Linked DNA regions of Homo sapiens: regions 1, 2, 3, 5, 6 and 7 are each linked to region 4. Evidence: promoter capture Hi-C in 16 types of primary human blood cells and fetal thymus (Javierre and others, 2016). All regions are on one chromosome and are shown on one strand. The core of a region is centred on a gene start or on the middle of the fragment in contact, and the rest is flanking DNA. Distances in the headings are between cores, read along the strand shown.

Region 1 (2,919 bases), core at 372-2,871, 620 kb before region 4:
GGGATATACTTTATATTGCTGTGCTTGGCATCAGCAACTGATGTGACAGCTCTTCCTCTGTTCTATGAAAAGGTGATGTACTTTAAAAAAAATGTTTCTGTAGAAAGTGCTTATATCCACTCAATAAAATCTCTAACAGGTCTAGCTACTTTAAAAGGAACAGTTAGGAGAGATGTTTTGCTTGAATGATAGTTTAAAGAATTCCTGTGTTTTTTCCCATTAGCTCCATCTAACTTGGGTTGTCTCAGAGAAATCCACTGGAGCTGATCTTCCTCAGTAAGATGTCTTTTGGTTTTGTTTTATCATCATTCCTCATCTGAGAACCAGAGAGAGAAAGCTGTCAACAAGTTATAGGTTCGTCCAGTTGGTGGAGCTGTTTGGGCCACAGCACAGGGACATATCTTTTGGGTGGCAAGTTCTAGGTATGGGGCTCTTTCATTTGCAGGTGGCTTATCCAAGAGGGCTGGAGATGTAGCTCCTAATATTCTTAATCCAGTTAACCGGGATGCTAACATGTTGTACTGATGTTACTTCTGTGGCAAAACTTCTCAGAGATCTTGGGCCCAGTAACTGGTCCAAAAGAAAGACTTGAGAGGAAGAATGGCTTTACCTGAAGTCTATGGTCATTCTTATTGCTGTTTTTTGTGCGTTCAATTCAGACTTTCAGCTTGGTCACTGTTCTTCTCTTCTTCCCCTTCCTCTATGTGGTTGGGGACTGGAAAAGGGTGTCCTAGTTGTTCGAGACCCTATCCTGGACTGCTCTTTGCTCCTATCTATCCAACTTCTCAAAGTTCAGCTTTGCTTTTCCTTTCCTGCCTTGTACTCACCCCTTTGGGCTAATGAGATTCTCAGCTTTTTCCAAACGCTGACTCTTCTCTCATCTCTAGGTCCTTTGGGTAAACATCTCTTCCAACCTTGATCTAATTTTTAAAAAACTGCCCCTTATCACTAATTTTAGAAGCAGCAAACTCATTATATAGTAATTTAGATTAAAATATATATATAATTATTGTATTCCTGGATTTTGTTCTTTTTTTCTTGTTTAGTTCTGAATTTTGCTCCTCTAGGATATTCTTAGTAAATCTCTAAGGAAAATGCAAAATCTGCCACTAATAAAAGCAGCCACTGACATGGATGGGATCTAGGGCGAAAGCAAATGGGGAAAAATGGGAAACTTAAAAAATAAGAGAAATGCCTTTTTTTTTTTTTTTAAAGCCAGAGACATGATCTTGCTGTGTTGTCCAGGCATTTCAAACTCCTGGGCTCAAGCAATCCTCCTGCCTCAACCTCTCAAAATGCTGGGATTATAGGCATGAAATGCCTATTTTTGAATGGATACTTTTAAAATTATCTACTTATCTAGTATGCTCCCAGCATCTGAAGAGCAGATAGGATTCATTGATGAAAGGGTGAGGTGGTTAAAACATACAGGAGGCCAAGACTAGTAGTTAGCCCTGTGTAGGTATCACAGGATTACTTGGGTCAGAGACTCAAGCAGAAGTCTCTTTAAAGCTTTTCTAAATGATAAACATTGTTGGAATGGGGTAAAGTTGTTCTACTGCAAGAAAACTCTTCATCAGAAGAAATTAAGAATTAATTATCCTTATCTAATTAGACTAGGTGTTTCTCAATAACAAGAAAAAGTAGTTGCTGCTTGCATTGCTTTTACTCTGGCACTAGTATAATGCAGTCATTATTGGTCATAAAGCACTCTAAAACCAATTAATTTGTAAAGCTTATTTTGACAAGAAGTAAATACAAAGGTAAGGCATAGTTAGCATAATGCTGCTATCATGGCACTCTTGGGCATAATTTATATACATAAAAAATACAAGGGCAAGTATAACTTTCAAGCTGATTGCCTGTAAAAGACTTAATTGAAAACAGTTTTCTGCTTTTAAAAAGTGATTTATTTTAGATGTGCTTTAAAAAACAAAGGTCTTATTGATAACCATTTTGAGTATATTATCTCGATGTGGGATTTAAGTAAAAGGTCAAATCTTATAGAAGTATTTTTGGTATGACTCAATTCTGATCACAGATAAACTTTATCAAGAAAATGAAATTAGTTAAACATTTTCATGCCTGAGCACTAGTTTAAAGAGGCAGCAATTTTTTTTTTTCACAAAGACTTCAAGAAGAGAACTTTGGTTGAGAAACCTAGAAAACAAAGAACTCAAGATGTTATCGTATAAATGTTCTTTAAACAAGTTAATATTATGAGAGGGGAAAAGCATTAGATATGTTTCACTAGAAGAATAAACAATTCACATGTGTAATTTTTGCAGTGGATAGACAAATCTCAGATCTTTTCTGCCTGATATCATTTGCATTTATTCAGCTTATTCAAGTAAAAGACTTATATTTTATTTCAGAAAAGCTAACATGGAACTTTTAATTTTACATTTAAGTCCTGTTTAGTTGTAATTCTCACTCCCCCAGCCCCTGTAGCCTCCTGAACAGCTCTGACTTGCTTTTTTTCTGAATCCAGCATCAGTCCTACAATTAGTCCATTGGCCAGGTGATGGTCATGTGCCTGGTTAGAGTAGGGCAGGCTCCATTTGCTGATGGGCTGTGCGACTCAATGTTCACAAATGTTTAGTCATTCAGCTCCTTTTCAAGGAATAAGCCTGGATCAGGCAAGTAATTAACCTTTGCTAGTCCCAAGGTTTGTTCATTAGAGGCAGGGAAGGAGGAATCTTCTCACTTTTCTTCTCAGTCCTACTGCTCGCCCCAGCTTTATGAAACATGAGCTATGTCCTAAGGGAAGAGCAAGTGGGCCTCAGGTCCTCAGAAAGCACCACAAAACTCTTAAAATATTAAGCGTAGGAGTCTATTGTTCCTTTGTTTTCCTGGACAGGGAAACCTCTTTAACATTGGACTTCATTGTCTGTACCCCATTTCCTGTTCTTACAGTGG
Region 2 (2,984 bases), core at 68-2,567, 710 kb before region 4:
GAAATGAAGCCTTCATTGGTAGAAAAGAGTGTAGGTCACAAAAATGAATTAGCAGAAGTTCTTGATTTCTAATTATTGAAGATTCCTATCTAGTGGTATTCTAATATGCTTACCAAATTATGAGTTGCATTACTTTTTAAAAACCTAAAACCAAGTCAAGATTTACAGAGTGACCCCAGTTTATTTTGTTTGGTAAGTTTTCAGTTCCAGTTATTAGGCAAAACAAAAATTGCTAATACGTAACAATGCTGAAACAGGCGATTGGTAGAATAAAACAAAAGGGATTCATACAGCTTTTGTACTGTCTTCTTGAAAAAGTCATATTTGGCCATAAAAGCTAATACATGCTTTAGGAATGGAAATGATTTAACCTGATTTTTTCAAGTAAGATTTGTTCAAGAATAATGGGCTTATGTTGTCAGTTGTGGGTTCAAGCAGTAATTCACTTTGGACTGCTTCTATTCAACAGTATGCTGTCTGTACGTAAAGAGTTACATGGAATTTAATTTTAGCATTGGAATCTATTTGAGATACCATTATCTTTTATATTCAAATGAAAAATTATGGGCCTCTAGAATTAAGTGTTACTAACCTGATATAGATAGAATAATAGCTGTATCAAAAGGAAAAAAGCAAGGATAATATGTGTATAGGGTTTGAATCATACAGTCTCACTAGAGATGTGTTTTTTAAAATTGTGAATGTTTGTTGATTCATTCAAAACCGTTTGAAAATTGTGAGGGAGCCAGAAAAGGGGAGAATATTTGGATGTATAATTTAGATGTATAGTTTGCTTGCTTATCAGGGAATAGTTAAGTTCCTTTTTTTTCTGTATATTTTAGTTGGTGAAATTAACAGTTTTTGTTCTTTTAGATTACCCTGTAAAAGAACATGGCATTTTATAGATGAGATAATTGAGGCTTATACATGTTGAGTTATAATGTGTGGAGGAGTCTGATGTGCATCCAAGTCTGTCTGCCCCTAATGTCTCTGTTTTTAACCATTATCCTCAGAATGAAATACATTCATATAGTAGAGACCAATTCTTAAACAGAAGTCATCTTTACTCACAAAATTAATCTGTGAAGTACCCACTGTTCTCAGTTTCTCTCCCTCTCACTTTTTCTTTCTAGTGCTTTGCAGTTTTTAATGAAAGTGAATATTTTTTTCAGAAATTATTATTTTCATGTTTTTTATTAGAGGATTAAATTTGTTGCTAAGATCATTTAGTAAGTCTTTTGCAGTCTTTTAAGATTAGACTTAAGTGTAAACTTAAAGATTGCCTTGAAGTATATTATTTAGCTATATTGCATTATTATTCCTTATGTAATGAGCTATAGACTGAGCACTCCTTGACAAATCACAAGAATAAGACCCAAAGAATCAAACTTTCCCAAGTAACTTAACTGCATCCCAGGACAAAACTCAGGAACATTTAGAGGAACAGAAGACTATCCAGCAGCCAACAGATAAAATTCACAATGCCTTGCCAGGCACACAAAGAAGCCAGAAAAAATAATCCACAATGATGAAAACAATCAATCATCTGAAAGTGACCTTAAGCAGAGAAAGATGTTAGAACTAGTAAAGACATTGAACATTATTATAGCTATATTCTATATTTTCAGAAAGTAGAGACATGAAAGACATTTTTAAAAACTCAATGCAGTTCTAGGGATGAAAACTACAATATCTGAGATCTACTAATGGTATTTGTAGCAGATTAGACATGGCAGAAGAAAAGGTTAGTGAACTTGAAGGATATAGCAAAAGAAACTACTCAAAAATGAAAGAGAAAAAAGAATGACAAAAGCATCAGTGAGCTATGGGACAAACTTACAGAATCCTTATGTAAACATAATCAGAGGCATCAAAGGAGAGGAGAGGCAGATACAAAAGGGATATTTGAAAAAGTAATGGCCAGAATTTTCAAATTGGACAAAAACTATTAACTCACAGATCCAAGAAGCTCAACAAGAAGAAAACTACACCAAGGAATGTCATAATCAAATTATTCAAAGCCAATTATAAAAAATATGGAAAACAGCCACATGTTATAGAGTAACAAAGATAAGGTTGACAGCAGATTTCTCATTAGAAACATTGCAAGTGAAGAGACAGTAGAACATAAAGTACTGAAAGAAAAAAATGTTAACCTCAGCAAAATATCATTCAAAAAACAAAGGCAAAATAAAGATGTTTTCAGACATACGAAAACAACTCTTTACCATCAGGTAGACTGAAGGTAGACTGTGGTAGGGTGAAGATGTATACTGCCCTAGGGCAACCAGTAGAATAACAAAACAGTTATAGCTAATAAGTCAACAAAGGAGATAAGATAGAATCACAAAAAAATACTCAACCCAAAAGAAGGTGGAAAAAGGAACAAATAAGTAGTGAAACTAATAGAAAAATGGCAAGGCAATAGACTGTAATCATATCAGCAATCACATTAAATGCATATTATCTAAATATCCCACTTAAAAGGCAAAGATTGTCAGATAAAAAGCAAGACTGCTTTTGGACCTGGATGAACAGGAGGCACCATCACGGAAGTTGACTCCTGCCACAACAATGACTGAAAGGTTCAACACCAGGAACCCAAGAGCCAGGACATCTACTGAAGGCTGTTGGTTAAGCTGTATATGTTTCTGGCCAGAAGAAACTCTACCTTCAACCAAGTTGTGGTGAAGAGGTTATTTATGAGTTGCACCAAATGGCCATCTCTGTCTCTTTCCTGGATGATCTGGAAGATGAAGCTTCCTGGCCAGGAAAACAAAACAGCTGTGGTTGTGGGGACCATGTTCAGGAGGTGCCCAAACTGAAGGTGTGTGCACTGCACATGAGCAGTTGGGCCTGCAGCCAAATCCCCAAGGCTGGGGACAAGATTCTCACCTTTGACCAGCTGACCCTGGACACCCTCAAAGGCTGTGGCACCATCCTGCTCTCTGGGCCTCACAAGGGCCAAGAAGTGTACTGGCATT
Region 3 (3,101 bases), core at 481-2,980, 740 kb before region 4:
TTAAGTCAAAAATTTTAGTCAAAGCTAAAACTCTAACTTGGAGCCCAATGAGCTTCTGGAGGACATCATATATTTGCAGATATTTTAAGATAAATTCAAGATCATATTCCAAGACTGATTAATCTCTCTCACACACATAAAATTGCATCATCTATAATCCATGTATTGTATATTGCACAATTCCAAGTACACAAAGGAAGGAATATATGACATTTTTAAAGATATGCTAGTAATCTGAGTTGGTTAGCATGTTTGGCTTCTGTGGGTCATGATTCTAAGTTGTAGTTGTTACATCAACTAATAGTTAAGCACTTACTATAAGATACAGAATAGAAAGGATATGACAAATTCATCCATGTTCTTAACAGAGCACTGCAAGTATACGCTTTATTGTAGACTAATCTTAACAGAAAAAGAACAGCATGTTTTTAAAAATTTCAAAATCATTTGCTTCAAAATTCACAGAAAAATCAAGGGAATACCAAAATGAACCTCCATATCCTATCTCTGGACTCCCAATCCAGCTGTACTGAAATCTAAAACTATGCCATACTTACTTCCCTTTGTTTTTTATGAAAATTGATTACACATACAGATGATGTCCTTTGTGAGCTATACCCTGATTCCATTCCATTCTTTCCAAAGATGCAAGCATAATCTTGAATTTGATATTTATTTCCTATGTTTTTACACTATTACTACCAATTCAAGAATTTAAACTTTATCATTGCTTTCAAGCTTTTGATAAATGGTATAATATCATACATATTTTATATACGTTACTCTGTATATAACCTTTATGCAACTTATTTGTTTGCTGAAGTAGGATATTCACCCATGATGATAAACACAGCTCTCATTTTAGTAGCTTTACAGTTCATCACATGACTATGTCACAATTTGCCATTCTCTTCTTGCTTAACATTTACATTGCTTTCATTTTTTTCCTATTAAAAATAACCAAGACTTTTTTCTACATGTCTTGAGTTTACCTAGAGCATCTAGGAATAAAATTGTTGGGTTCAAGCCTATTGTATCTTCAACTTTACAAAGATATTGCTAAATGCTCCCACAAGCAGCATATGAAGAGTTCCTCATTTTATATTTCCTCCAACATTTGGAAGCATATTTAAGAAAAACAGCCACTATCTATATGAAAATTTAAAAATTCATAAGTGATCAATTCCTTTGGTTTTCATCAAGTATTGGTTTAACATAGGTATACTAATGTTCCAAACAAAGAGAATAGACTGAAATTTGGCCCAAGGCACTTACATGAAAACAAAGCTCTGATAACACAGATTTTCCTCATGTGACTGAGGAAATACCAAGACTTAATCTATTTTTTAATCAGCCGAATTTAAGATTCAAGAACTTAATCTAGAAATGATAAGATTCCTAATTAAATATTAAGCTTAGATCCAAGATGACCAAAGAGGGGAAAAAAAGATGCAGGAAAAGTAGATAGTTTGTGGGTATGAACAATCCCTCCTCCAAGTTCATTTTGGGCAGTGCTTCTCACAAATGTGGTGCTCCTAAGAAAAATCTCTTAAAGCTTGTAAAAAAATGCAAATTCCAGGTCTGGAAAAATGTTTTTATTTTATTTTTTAAATTCTAGGTTATTCTCATACAGGTGGTTTGCAGGCAACTAAGCAGTAAGTAATGATTAAAAATGAGGTGCTTTCAATAGAGAGGATTATGTAACTCATGTTTTAGTTAGGGGAGGTAACAGTAATTAATATGTTATCTGTTAAATTACATAAACTTTTTTTTAAAAACCTCTAGCATTAGTCAACAACAACAAAAAAGTAACCTCAATTTATGGCTGAATATGCTTGACTTCACAATGCCAAGAAAGGTTGTGGGCTCATTTATTTTTTCAGATAACTAGACACATACTATGACAAAGCTTTTTTTAGTAATATTACCAGGGAACTAATATTCTGAATTTACTGTGATTGGCACAGGAAAATATTAAGAGTGAGAGTGATCAGGAGTGATTTTAATGAAGGTGACCAGAAAGCAACTATATGATTACCTTTTAAATAGAATGCTATTGCAAATGTCAAACTTTAAATGGGACATTTGGCTTTATACACTAAAAAAAAAAAAAAAAAAAAAAAAAAAGGCATTAGTAGTTTCCCACCAAGACCGCTACAAATAAATTCAGAACATTTATAGAAATCCAACATTCACACTTCCCTGTAACTCTAACCTATTGAAATTAGATGTAAAAGGAAGAAAAAAAATAGAATATTTAGGTTATAAAAATCGGCGCAAATTCAAATTATAAAAATAAAAACATTCTTCTATATTATTTGAAATTACAAAGTCCTGTTTCCAAAAGATTTAGAATAATCTAAGCTTTCTAGATAAAAAGTTCAGATAAAAGATATTTCAGTGAGAAATGGTAAATAGAAAAAGTAAGCAGTTTAGTAGTAAGAAAAAAGACATAAGTTTTCATCTGTTGCCTGCTTTTAGTTATTTACAACACTAAGTTAATATAGAATGTTGTTTTCTTTCTTTTATTATAGTGAAATCAACAAGAATTCGGTCTTGTTAGACTGGGCTTTTATAAAACAAAGATAATGTAGTCCAAAAGTGAAAGAAACACTCCTGTGTGGCCATAGCCAGCTTTTCTTTTCTATCCTCAATATATTACCTAACTTGTGATATCAGCAACTAATTATAATTTTTTTCAGTCTACCTGCTTAAAAGTGAAAACATGAAACATACCATATATACATGAAACATACTATATATACCTCCAGAAGCAAGACAGGTTTTCCATTCTAATGGATGGAATTAACTGAATAAAAATTAAATGAACTAAAGCCACAGAGAAATAGTAAAAAATAATAGAGTCTAAGAACTACAAGCATCTACTGTTCTCTTTATGCTGCAACCTTTCTGCTAAAGAATGTATTCTCTATACTGTGTATGTGGTACAGTGACAGTTGGGCTCTTCCCACCTGGGTTTGTAAAAACGGATGGGTGCAGGCTCCTTTGGCCACCATTATTGCATATTGATGTTATTCTGCACAACAGCTGACAAGCAGCATCGATCTCCCAGCCTCTGCTCCCAGCTGTAAGGGGTAAGA
Region 4 (3,341 bases), core at 680-3,179:
TATGGCAGAGACCATATGGCCCAGAAATTCTAAAATATTTACTATTTGGTTGTATAAGAAGTGGTTTGCTGCCCTCTATTGTAAAAACCTCCATTTACATTTCAGTATGTATCACTTAGAATTGTGCTTTTATGACTTTCTTGAAGCTCAGAATCCACAGGCATCTTCACTCTGGTACTTCCTATGTCCTATGCCACTAAGTCTTCTCTCTCTCTCATTTAAAAATCTCTGTTGTTTCCTAGTTTTACAAAGGATAAGCTTTGCATTACTGTTTTTCTTGATTCCCTTGATGTTTTGGTTGGTTTTTCTGAGATATGAATAAGAAAATACTCACTTAGCTCTGCATGTTAAAATTGGAAGTCCTCAGATAATATTCCAAGAAATTATTTTTTATTTTCATCTTTGGTTGGTTGTTTTTTGACCATTGGATAGAGATCTTAGCATACTAAATGTCTTTATCCTGAATATATAGAGATTTTCTCTCCTTAATTTAATGATTTTATGACTTCTGCAATTCTTTTAGTGATTATTTAGTTCTCAATGAAGAACATAAACACAACTTTTTAAAAAACATGTATTAGTAAGGAAAAATTTGTTTTATATTTTCTATTGCCCTAAATTCTGACTCATATTAGACAGCTCGGAGTAATATTTAATACTTGAAACTTCACAAGTAATTACAAATAAATAAATGCTATAAATATTAAAAAATAGGAGCAATCTCAACTTTATCCTCACATTTTTCTGCTAAGACTTATTTAGTTACATATTGGGCTTATTTTAAAATTTAACCAAAATTATTTGATCTTTAATTATGTTTTTACCTAGAAATGTATATTTAAAAATAAAGTGTAATTCCAGTTGTATTTATACTATTCAGAATTTCAGAAGTCTGTAATCCCAGCTACTCGGGAGGCTGAGGCAGGAGAATTGCTTGAGCCTGGGAAGTGGAGGTTGCAATGAGCAGAGATCGCACCATTGCACTCCAGCCTGGGTGACAGAGCTAGACTCACTGCACTCTAGCCTGGGTGACAGAGCTAGACTCCCTCTCAAAAAAAAAAAAAAAAAAAAAAGTCGGTCTGCTCCTCTGCCTTTTTTTTTCCTACTTTTAAGAGTAGTCTGCCTCCGCAAACTTTAGTAAAGAAGTACTAAAATTAAGTGTGTTAAATGGTGTTAAGATATATATAAAAATTAATTTTTAAAGAGAGTTTAGATTGTTATCTTTAAATTTTTTTATACATTTCATAAAACATAAGTATTTCCTAATCATTAATAGGTTTTAATGAGCTTTAGTAGATGAGCAGAAATATCAGAGATATAAAATGATACTATACCGGCTTCCTTAAGAAGCTTTCTATTATTTCTTAGAATCCTGCTTTATTCTCTTTCTTGAATTCATACATGGCATTTAAAAATCTCTTAAAGATGGTCATCAAAAACAAACAAATTTTTTAAAAGATGGTATTTGACATCTCCCCTCCCTCCTCCTGCTTCTCTCAAGCACCAGTTTCCAGGTACCACTGCCTATAAAGCCTTTTCCAAACACAAATTTAATCTTTGAGTGTTGAGGTTTTTTTGGTGTTTTTTTTTTTAAGGTAATGTATTATCCTATGCAATGATATTGAGCTTTTGACTGAGAAATTGTGAAATCAAAAGTAAAGTATAGGAATTCCTTAATGGACATTTCAAGAACTTTGAAAGGCTATTGTAAGGGGAAGAAAGAGGGAAAATCTGTTTCAGTAGGAGACCTTCTCACCTCTTTACTCATAAGCCAGCCCGGGCATCATATGACTTCATCAGACTGCAACTTACTGTTCTCCCCTTTGTGGGGAGTGTCAAATGCTATAATAGAGTTCTCCAGTCTGAGGTCAGCGAAAGCTTCTCAAAGGAGATGATGCCTGGCTAAAGGGACTTTCTTTCTGAGAAAGGGATCAGCATGTGCAAAGATGAAGAGGCATAAGGACTGACCAGTGGGTCACGGCAATGAGACATTTACTGCTGACCTCCAAGAGAAGACTTCCATTGAATGAGAGGAAGATCTACACTACTAATGATCAAACTGTGAGTGTTTTAGCTTTGTAGACTTATCAGGAACTTGGGAGATCAAGAAGACAGGATCAAACAGCAAATGGAGCTTTATCAGAAATGAAGAAAAGCATTTCTCCACAGTCCTAAGCTAAACCCTTTCTGCTAGTCCCAGTTCTTATATGTGCATCAAGGCAAAAAAACATTAATCAGAACAGGAATGTTTGATTGCTCATTCAAATTTGAAATAAGCAGCTTCCATTCTTCTAACCTTCCCTGGTGGGGCCATAACATTATCAATCAATATCAAGTCTGGCATATCATTGGCTATCACTATCCAGTGAGTATCTGAGGCAGCTGAAAGAAATTGGGGCATCCATGTAAGAATATTCATTTTCTATCATTATTTACTTAAATATGTAATATATCAAGATCTGTTAGACATATTTAAGTATATATACTTATATGAGGTTGGGGGTCCCTGCAAGAAGTACCAAGTGTTTCTAGAAGAAATGTACTTGAATATAATCGCTGTATAATCACTGTGAGAACAGAGTTCCATATCTGTCCTGTACATGCTTGTCTCTAGTACCTGGAGCAGTATCTGACACAGATATGTGTTGAGTGAATGGATGAATAAATAGATAGAAGGAAGATCCTCCAACTATGAAGTTTCTTCTTTTCTTCTGCTGCTGTTGAGTAGATGAGGGTGCCAAGAAATAAGACAGCAACACCAGGAAGAAGAACAAATTTGGGGTGAGTAGGGGTGGAAAGGATGACTGATTTATAAATTGGGTTTAGGAGCCAAGAGTTATGCTCTAGCAATTGGGTATAGTAGAAGATATTTAAATAAGAAATTGCTGATATTCTTGCAAACTGAGCTTTTCTGTAAAATCATGAGTTTAGAATTCTTTATTTCAGAAGGAAAAAAAAAAACTTAGAAAGGTCAGTTGGAACAAAAAGGGAAATTAAAAAGCCACAGAGAGAAACAACTATGGTGTCCTGGGGTACATTTAAAATAAGAAGGTACTTAAGCAAAATCATTGCGTTGAGGACATTTTCTTAAATAGGATCAATTACCAGTGTCCCAGTCAATTCCACATGTCAAGAAGCTTGTCTACCTACTTGACTGACCCAGGCCTAAAAATGATAATAGCAACTTGGTGGAGTTATCTAAAGTTTGACAACCTTTCCTCACCAACCGGCAGCCCCATAGGACATATTAATCACTGCAGTTTTTACCTTGTACCAGATATTTAGAAAGTAAAACCGAAGAAATTTATTTCCATGTGTTTTGGTTGAAAAAAAGAGACGTT
Region 5 (3,128 bases), core at 471-2,970, 600 kb before region 4:
GGGAGAGACCCTGGGAGAGGATGTGGAGGAGGCACTTTCCTTTCCCAGACTGGAGATCAGGCGTCCCCAGGGGCAGGGGGCTGGGGGTAGAAGGTCGAGGAGTGAGGAGTTGTGGAGAGTGAGTGGTGTCTGGAGCATAACTGTTGTATGTATTCATGCATGCGCGTGTACACATCACTGAATTTGTTTGTGGTGACTAGAGTCAGTTCTAAAATGTGTTCTTGTAAAGTCTTAGGCTCCTAAAAAAATCATTTGAATATGGATTTTAAATATTCTCAGAAGTTTGAGAAAATATTCCTACTAACTATGACAGGGAACAAATACATACAAATTAGTTAATAACATCATGCTAAAACGTATAATGTGATTTTCAAAACATGCTAAAGAGTTAAAAAGTCTTTTTAAAATTTGTTTATTTTTTATTTCTCTTCCCTCTTAGAGCGTAAAAAGTTTTAAGAGGGTTTTTTGTTTTTTCTTGATATTTAAAATTTTGGTTTGATGCTGAGAAAAGCTTTCCACATACTAGGCACGTAATAGATATTCAGTATTATGTGATCACAGGAAGTAAAATAAGTTAGAGAGATCAGAGAGATTATTCTGTATTTAAAGGATTGAGATTTTCTACTATTTTTAGCCAAAGAACAATATGCAACCTTGAGTTAAAAGATTCCTTATTACTGATTGGGAGTTTGACTGTTTTGCAAAAACTGTGCTTGCCACATATTGTCAGATGATGATGAAAAATCTAAGTTTAGGCTTGACATATAGTGAATTATGTGGCTTTTCCCCAACTTGAATAAACATACTTAAAAAAAATCCCACTGGTTTATTTGTCTTCATGTAGCTTGCTTACCTCACAAGGTTTATTTCAGTAGTCATTTAAAACCAAATTTCTGAATTCTTACATTGTATAGAAATATCCCAGGAACCATTTTTGGGTTGAACAAGACTTTTATATTAGTTCCCCAGTCATAACAATATTTTCTTGAAGTTACAGTAATATATTCTTGAAGGCATAATAATACATTCTTGAATATATTATTGAAATTCAACTTATATGAGAATATGTTAAGAATGTATGAGAATATATTAAAGAATATATTGAATGGTGGTATTACTTATATATTATTTATCACCATTTCTGGATATAGTGATATGCTTTTTTTTTTTTGAGACAGGGTCTCACTCTGTCACCCAAGCTGGAATGCAGTGGCAGGATCGCGGCTCACTGCAACCTCGGCCTCCTGGGTTCAAGCAATTCTCATGCCTCAGCCTCTCAAGTAACTGGGACTACAGGTGTGCACCACCGCACTTGGCTAATTTTTGTATTTTTTGTAGAGACAGGGTTTCACCATGTTGGTCAGGCTTGTCTTGAACTCCTGACCTCAAGCAGTCTGCCCATCTTGGCCTCCCAAAGTGCTGGGATTACAGGCGTGAGCCACCATGCCCAGCCTGGATATGGTGATATGATGTTTAGTTAGCCACAGCCTCTGGTGAGGACAGTTGACTAATTTAAAAATGCTTGGCACACACATGAGCATTGTATCCTGCTGAGAGTCTTCCACAGATTTGTCCTTTGGTCTAACTTATATTTCTCTAGGTGAAGTTTACACTCATTTCTTTTTGTTCTACCCTTATCGGTGACTAAGAGACCAGCTGTATTCCAACTTCTGAATACTGGCAGAATTCTGAATCAGTAGCTCTTCCAAAAGGGCCTAGCTTACCTCAGAGAATCAGTCTGACCCTTGTGTCCTTGTCTCCTCTATGGAGAACATGGAGTTGCTTTTCTTTGCAGTTGGTTGTAGCTTAAACCATAGTGCATTGCTGAGTCGTGTGATGTGTGATTCATCAGGCCTCAGGTGACAACGGTGGATTTCCTTCAGGAATGAGTAGCAAACATTTTGGCCCCTCTTTGGGTGCCAAGCACCATGAGGTAAGGGAGTACTTTACAGACCCCTAGAGATCCACGGGTGCTCTAGATATAGCCATATTTCAGCCCCTGGATCCTTTGTTAGTGCCATATTAGGAGAATGCCTGTGGAAATGGCTTCTTTTCTCCACATAAGGCTTTTCTTTTTCTATTTTTAAAAATTTGGACCACCAGGCAAGAACACATCAGGAATTTTTCTGTTTAATTTGAACACATGTGTTAAGAGGCAGAGTATAGAAAGTAGTCTGAGACTAGAGAATCTAATGGAGTAACTAAGAGGGTTTACACCTAGGATATTGGAATTAGCTATGTCCTAGGCTATAAATCTAAGGTATCTTTGTTCTAAAATGAAACATGACACAGACATGACAGATGACAAAGAGTACACTTTATTGTAGATCCATATAATACTGAGAAAATTATTTTTCTGCAAATCTCCTTGGAGATCAGGATGGGGTTGAACCTCACCTGAACCTTAAGTCATGGAAAGTGAAGGAGAATTTTAGGATGGCATACAGTACAATGATCTTTAAAATGAACTGCAGGGCCAGGCGCGGTGGCTCATGCCTGTAATCCCATTACTTTGGGAGGTTGAGGCGGGCAGATCACGAGGTCAAGAGATCGAGACCATCCTGGCCAATATGGTGAAACCCTGTCTCTATTAAAAATACAAAAATTAGCTGGGCGTGGTGGCACGCGCCTGTAGTCCCAGCTACTCAGGAGTCTGAGGCAGGAGAATCGCTTGATCCCAGGAGGCGGAGGTTGTAGTGAACCAAGATCGTGCCACTGCACCCCAGCGTGGGTGACAGAGCAAGACTCCGTCTCAAAAAAAAAAAAAAAAAAAGAGAGAGAGAGAAAGAAAATGAACTGTAGAACACTGATGTTCTTCTGGCAAGACCAAGTTGTTTTGCCACTAAAATATTGGAAAAATAAGTGTCTTTTCTTGATTTTAAGAAAAACACTTTCCCAGAATTATGTATGCTTTTCTCCCAATACTTTTTAAAGCTTTGGTGTTTGTTTCTGTACTAGAATCTAGTGTAAGAAAGATCTGACTGAGGGCACATGTTCTCAGGATCTCCTGAGGGCTGTGTCACAGGCAAAAACGTGGAATAAAATAAAATAAAATATCCAATTAAGCATAACACATTAACTTTAAAAAAACCTAAGTGTAGCAGTATTTAATAGTGTTTTGCAAAGAT
Region 6 (2,883 bases), core at 19-2,518, 650 kb before region 4:
CAGCAGAGAGATTTTGTGGCTTCTGTATCCTGCCGCTGCACTTCTCCCTTCTCCAGCCTCCTTTCTATTTGGTGGTGCAGAATCACCTTGGTCAGCCCTTTGACCTTGCCTGGAAAAAAGTCCTCATCAGTGAGTGAGTGTGAGGTTAGAGTGATAAAGATTCTAAAGGAATGCCTTGTTTTGATTCAAATAGTTGGATTAGTCACAGAGTTACTTAATCCACACACATAGTAGAATCCTCCAGCAAGCTTCTTTGTTTTCATCAGAGCTTTTGAGAGATTATTATATTATATCTCTATCTTTTAAAGATAGAGTAGAAATCCATCTATGAAGAATAGTTTTAGGTGCATTCCTGCCTGAACACACATTTGGACAGTCTTATAATTATGTATCTTCCCGAGATGCATTTTGAGCCATTTCTACCCAGAACTTAAAAAAATATTTCCTATGAGTGCTGGAGGTTCTTGCTTCTCTTAACCCACTAACTTTTTGAAGCCATAAGAATATCTTATTAAGGATTATGCAAAATAACGTCCTACAAATCCTGATATTATTACACTGCCCAAAAAACTTCAAAGCATCAGGAAAGTGTTGTGTTTTTTTTTTTTTTTTTTTTTTTTTAACTAAACCAGATTCAGCTGGCTACCCCACTTGGCTACAGAGTACTAAAGAAGAGACTGAACTTGATCCTGCTGCCCTTGCATACACAACACTCCCATTGACGCTAGTGAAGACTTAAGCGCATGAAAGGATTCCAGGATCAAAAGGTTAGCTCTATGGGGAGCTGTGTCTGGCTCAAGCAATCCATTTTTTTCTATTGACAGTGAAAACGTTTTATAGTTCTTTTTCAAAGTTTTCCCAAACTTTTACAATAACAGGCAACTTGTGAAAAAGTGAGAAGGCATCTAATTGAACTATATCCAGAGGAGATCATGGCAGAGACCAACAGGAAGAAAAACATTTCCAAACCACAGCGATATTGGTCAAATCAATTGTATTTGAAGAATAAAGCATTTGAGGCGTCGGCTGAGAAAAATTTTCATTATGAAACTTGGTTGGACTATGAAGCAGAATGTGAGATAAAATAAAACACAGAGCTCATGAGTTTTTATCTTTGTCTGCTAATGACTTATGCTAGCAGGATTATACTTTTTTTTTGCATTTTATGAGATGTATGAACTAGGAAGAAAATACATGCTATATCTAAATGGATTAGACGTGCAGATTCTTAACTAACATTTAATTCATTGCTAGTAAAACAAATGCCTTAAAACATTTAAAAAAGTGAAATTATCTTAAGGAGATAATTAACAAGCAGAGTAGAATAGCATTTTTGAAGAAAGTGTAATATGGTTCTACACTGGCATTTTCTGCATTTATTGAAGATACTTAGTCTATCCAACAATTCACTCATTCATTCTTTCATGAAACCCTGTCTCTACTAAAAATACAAAAAAAAATTAGCTGGGCACGGGGGTAGGCCCTTGTAGTCCCAGCTACTCGGGAGGCTGAGGCAGGAGAATGGCGTGAACCCGGGAGGCAGAGCTTGTAGTGAACCAAGATCGCGTCACTGCACTCCAGCCTAGGTGACAGAGCGAGACTCCGTCTCAAAACAACAACAACAACAACAACAACAACAACAACAACAACAAATTTCTTTGTGCACTTACTATATGCCCAATGCTAATCTAATAGTTTTACAAGACCTCAATTGAACAAGTGTCTGAGGAAATGGATTGCATCTAATAAAGCAAGACACACCAACTGTGGATGGGTGGTGTGTCTAGAGTATTTTGCATTCCTAAATCACTCTTCTGGAGAAAATTTGTATCAATAATTTTGTCTAGCTTCACCTGGAGTTACACATTTTGATTGGTAAGTGGCTTCTGTGATTTGCCTCTTAGAAATACATTATAATGTTATCCTAATATATGTACTAGGACAGACAATGCTACGTTGAACTAACTTGAATAGCATATTTTATAATCATAAAACTGATATAATATTATAGTTTTGATCTTAATCCTCCTCTATTGTATGAGCAATGGAAAGTCTTGGTGAGGAGCTTGTCTAAACATTTCTCTTGCATTTTCACATAATTGGGCTTGACAGTTTCCTGCCATTGTATAGGATAACTTCAGTTGATGGTGATCATGTTTTTGCTTAAGGGTCATTGAATTGTATTAGAAATTTTATACCATATTCTTGTAATCCTATAAGTCATTTTTGAGTTACATTATTGAAAGTGAACAATAATGTACCACAAAACAAAAGTTACTCATGCAGTTAAAGCTTTTTTTTGTACCTAGGTTTAGAAACTACAAGTCCACAGAGAATAGGGCTCGTGAAATAAATGAAAATACACGCTCATCTCCACCCACTCCTTGTTGTTGGGGCCTGGTCAGATCTGGTGAAAACATTAAGCCATTTGCCTTAAGTGGTATTGGCAAGTTAATTTATTCACCTTCTGGAAGGTACCAGGCTAGTGCTTGCAGAGGCAAGATTTTTTTTGGGTGAAGGGAGCAAACTTTTCCACTTAACATGTGCCCATGGAAATCAGGTACTTCTTTTTTCAGCTACCTTAGCTTCTGTTGGGAATTTGAGGGTGTTTTATGGGTTATGTTCTTATACGGTGGTTAAGTAGGCTTGCTGAAATGGATCTAGAAAAGACCCAGGTCAGTCACTGGTTGAAAAAGGGTTGACAGAAAATTAAGGAGATATGACTGAGAGCAGTTTCTCTTTCAGGTCCCCAAATTTCTCCTCTAGCCAATTCACATTAAGGTCTGAAATTTCCCCCATTGGTGTCATTCCGGCCATTGTTTCCAGAAGGGACTTTCAAAAATGCAAATATGTTCCTGTGGAGCATTTGCACATTTGGTGAGT
Region 7 (3,046 bases), core at 196-2,695, 670 kb before region 4:
TGTCTATCCCTCCGTTCATGTCTTTATGAAGCAGGATAACATATATAACATCCAAATATGTTTTAACTTGCTTTTATGACTACATAATATATGCAAATATTTTATGTTGTTAAATATTGTTCTAGAACATGATTTTTAAATTTCTGTATCATCACCGATGGAAGAATGTACCACATTTTGTCTAACAAATTTCTTTTATTTATTATTTATTTATTTATTTTTTAAATTTTTTATTTTATTTTATTTTATTATTATTACACTTTAAGTTTTACGGCACATGTTCTTATTGTTGAAAGTTTGACTTATTTCCCCTCTTTTTTCTATTATGAATAGTGCTACATTGAGTATCCTGTAGTCTGAGTGTGTGTCTGTTTAGTATTTATGGCATGCTACTTATTTTTTTATTTTTATTTTTAATTGTTGTGGGTACATACACAGTAGGCGTATCTATTTATGGGGTACAATGGCATGCTACTTTTTTTTTTTTAGACAGGGTCTCACTCTGTTGCCCAGTCTGGGGTGCAGTGGAGTGTGATCACAGCTCACTGCAGCCTCAACCTCCTGGGCTCAGGTGATCTTCTCACCTCAGTCTCCAGAGTAGCTGAGACCACAGGCATGCGCCACCACACACTGCTATTTTTGCATTTTTTGTAGAGATGGGGGTCTCACCATGTTGCCCAGGCTGGTCTCAAACTCCTGGGCTCAAGTGATCTGCCCGCCTTAGCCTCCCAAAGTGCTGGATTACAGGTGTGAGCCATTGTGCCTGGACGGCATGCTACTTTTTAAGGCTTTTGATGCACATGGGCAAATTCTAGAATGGCTGTACTGAAGTAGACATTGTGGACAATGCATTTGGGTTCTTGTTTCACACACCAGAGCTTCACTTTTCATCTGCAACGGCATTCTGACCATTTTTAATGAGCATTAGTTATTTGACACTGAGCATACCACTTTCCTAACTTTGAGAAGAAAGAGAGGTATTAAAGTCTTGGGTGTGGCTGTTTTTCAGAATTTACAATTAAAAATCTATCTCAATATTTTGCTGTCTTTAAAAAGCAGTGAAGTCTGAGGAAGGATATTAGTGGATTCAGTGGCTGCTGTTCATAATGCCTGCAGGACATTTTGAGTGTTTCCTTCCTGAGTTCAGAGCCTCATCCTCGCATCTCAATGAGACATTACCCTAGAACCTCTACCACCATGACTACCAGCACTTCTGAATTGAAACTGTCTTTGGCTGTCAATTTGCTTTGGGGACCTTTTCTAGAAGTTAAATTCATTTTTGTGGAGGCTAAAACTAGTCACTCGATCACATTTGTGATATGAGTCATGTTAGAATAAAGATCTAGAAGAGTGGTAGATCCTATCTAACTTGCACAATAGTAGAAAGTGAGGTACAAACAATATTTCTCCTAGTCCCTCTGAGTTCAATCTGGATTTGAGATTTACTTTTCATGATCTGACACAAAGTATGTGTGTGTATGTGTATTTTGAAAAATTTGGACAGGAGTCCCATATGATGTTGAATTAATCAAATATAAATACACACACACACACACACACACAGACACACACAAACACAGAGACACACACTTTATTCCATTAGGGAAAGTATGCTTTCTTTTTTTTCTTTGCTCACAAAACTGAGAAATTGGCAGAATATTTTACTTGTAACTTGGCAGTATTGCAATTTACAGACGAGAAAGGCAAGCCAAATTGGGTGAAAATTGTTTGAGATTTTTTTTCCCAGTTTTAGACAGTGAAAATCATGTAGCTGAGCGTGCACATTCAGCCGTTTTCTGCTTGATTTTTAACCGCGTTTGTTCATTGGCACTGCCAGAGCTAGTTACAACTTCCCGGTGCAAGCATGTGATGGCCAGGGGAAGGTGTGGGGATTCGTGGCTGTCCTCCCCATGCTGTTAATGTTAAAATAACTGTTGTTTGAATTGTTTTGAGATACTGATTAGAGAAATATGAAATGTGATATTATTTGAGCTTCATAAATCCATCTTAATTATCAATATATAAACACAGACTTAGGAGTGGGAGATCCAGATCAGACATGTTTACAGGCCTGAGCTTTTTCCGTGAGTTTCTGGAACATTGTGGTGCCTGAGACACAGCGGGAATCCGACGACTCTGAGAACGGACTTTCCCTTTTAAATGCTGGAGGCTTTGAAATCGTCTTCACAATGAGGGAGGATTCATGAAGTAATGAAAAGCTGTTTCCTCTTTAAAACGTTCAGACAGCAGCACAAACATCTGGGAATTTGTTTGAATATTTGGGTTCCCTGAATTACCCATTTCCTTAACATACATTTTACTTACTTTTCCAAGGGAGATACATTTCCACCTCATGTTTTTCCCAGTTTAGCTGTGTTAGGCTCTTCACTTTAGCATTTAGGTTGCTTTGTATTTAAGGACACAGGTTAAGGCCGTATTATGAAAGGTATGATTTGGGTTTGGGGGAGCAGGATGTTGTTATGCGTGAGGGGCAAAGTGATTTTTGTGTGTGATACAAGTTTCAATTACATCATGGTGTCATCCTTATAAATTAAATTTAAAAACAGTTGTGCCAAAAAAATAGCCACTAATGTTTCTTTTAAAAAATGATTAAGCAACAATATTTACTCAATATTTGAATTAAGCAAAACTGTCATCTTCTTTCTCCTTTTCAGAACATAATTCCTCTTTCAACTTCAGAAGTCATGAGACTTCCCTTTCTTTCTCCATTCTCTTCCTCACACTGCAGTGTCTCAAAGGGTGAAAATGTCTGTGTGTGGGAGAGGGTGGTGGTGGTAGGGCAGTGGTCAGAACATTCTGGAATCCAGGATAAGAAAAACCAGCTTGATTTCTGCACTTAGGACATTGTTGATGTTTATTTAGGGATGTGCTATCTGGATTGATGGAAAAATTTGGAAATACTTAAATATTTCGGTATGTAATATCGGATGATGAGACAGTGCAGCACTGATAGCTTCCTGGTTGTCAGTGTGGCTCTGTATCTCTGTTTTACTTGTCATATTTGTACTAAGACAGGTGTGGTTTT

Evidence for each region. Contacts are between HindIII fragments. The CHiCAGO score rates a contact against its expected background, and 5 or more counts as called.
Region 1: a contact is called between a fragment that was not itself captured here and the fragment with the promoter of DLEU7-AS1 in region 4, in 7 of 17 cell types (total B cells, M0 macrophages, naive B cells and 4 more). The highest score is 6.7, in total B cells.
Region 2: a contact is called between a fragment that was not itself captured here and the fragment with the promoter of DLEU7-AS1 in region 4, in 7 of 17 cell types (total B cells, fetal thymus, naive B cells and 4 more). The highest score is 10.1, in total B cells.
Region 3: a fragment that was not itself captured here is called in contact with the fragment with the promoter of DLEU7-AS1 in region 4 in 5 of 17 cell types (naive B cells, total B cells, fetal thymus and 2 more); the score reaches 13.7 in naive B cells.
Region 5: a contact is called between a fragment that was not itself captured here and the fragment with the promoter of DLEU7-AS1 in region 4, in 1 of 17 cell types (monocytes). The highest score is 5.2, in monocytes.
Region 6: a fragment that was not itself captured here is called in contact with the fragment with the promoter of DLEU7-AS1 in region 4 in 9 of 17 cell types (endothelial precursors, naive B cells, monocytes and 6 more); the score reaches 10.3 in endothelial precursors.
Region 7: a contact is called between a fragment that was not itself captured here and the fragment with the promoter of DLEU7-AS1 in region 4, in 6 of 17 cell types (fetal thymus, total B cells, megakaryocytes and 3 more). The highest score is 7.7, in fetal thymus.

Annotation. Positions count from the first base shown.
Region 1 is chr13:50,189,276-50,192,194 of GRCh38, forward strand. All of the region lies in intron 2 of DLEU1 (deleted in lymphocytic leukemia 1), which reads left to right. Among named protein-coding and RNA genes, the nearest start is that of DLEU2, 65 kb to the left of the region's middle. The HindIII fragment of the contact is 223 bases long and covers 1,511-1,733 here.
Region 2 is chr13:50,096,779-50,099,762 of GRCh38, forward strand. The region is part of intron 1 of DLEU2 (deleted in lymphocytic leukemia 2); the gene reads right to left. The region is part of intron 2 of DLEU1 (deleted in lymphocytic leukemia 1); the gene reads left to right. It also overlaps the pseudogene RPL18P10. Among named protein-coding and RNA genes, the nearest start is that of DLEU1, 16 kb to the left of the region's middle. The HindIII fragment of the contact is 2,880 bases long and covers 1-2,757 here.
Region 3 is chr13:50,068,544-50,071,644 of GRCh38, forward strand. It overlaps DLEU2 (deleted in lymphocytic leukemia 2), which reads right to left. Exons shown (of 14, transcript NR_152566.1): 3 at 2,973-3,086; 4 at 2,039-2,098. Among named protein-coding and RNA genes, the nearest start is that of DLEU1, 12 kb to the right of the region's middle. The HindIII fragment of the contact is 354 bases long and covers 1,554-1,907 here.
Region 4 is chr13:50,805,926-50,809,266 of GRCh38, forward strand. DLEU7-AS1 (DLEU7 antisense RNA 1) reads left to right here and starts at 1,930. Exons shown (of 5, transcript NR_046551.1): 1 at 1,930-2,061; 2 at 2,615-2,781. It also overlaps a transcript of DLEU7 not described here. The HindIII fragment of the contact is 1,259 bases long and covers 1,877-3,135 here.
Region 5 is chr13:50,209,118-50,212,245 of GRCh38, forward strand. The region is part of intron 2 of DLEU1 (deleted in lymphocytic leukemia 1); the gene reads left to right. Among named protein-coding and RNA genes, the nearest start is that of DLEU2, 85 kb to the left of the region's middle. The HindIII fragment of the contact is 2,423 bases long and covers 510-2,932 here.
Region 6 is chr13:50,156,195-50,159,077 of GRCh38, forward strand. The region is part of intron 2 of DLEU1 (deleted in lymphocytic leukemia 1); the gene reads left to right. Among named protein-coding and RNA genes, the nearest start is that of DLEU2, 32 kb to the left of the region's middle. The HindIII fragment of the contact is 2,044 bases long and covers 247-2,290 here.
Region 7 is chr13:50,139,085-50,142,130 of GRCh38, forward strand. All of the region lies in intron 2 of DLEU1 (deleted in lymphocytic leukemia 1), which reads left to right. Among named protein-coding and RNA genes, the nearest start is that of DLEU2, 15 kb to the left of the region's middle. RefSeq lists an enhancer at 1,800-2,473. The HindIII fragment of the contact is 7,969 bases long and covers 1-3,046 here.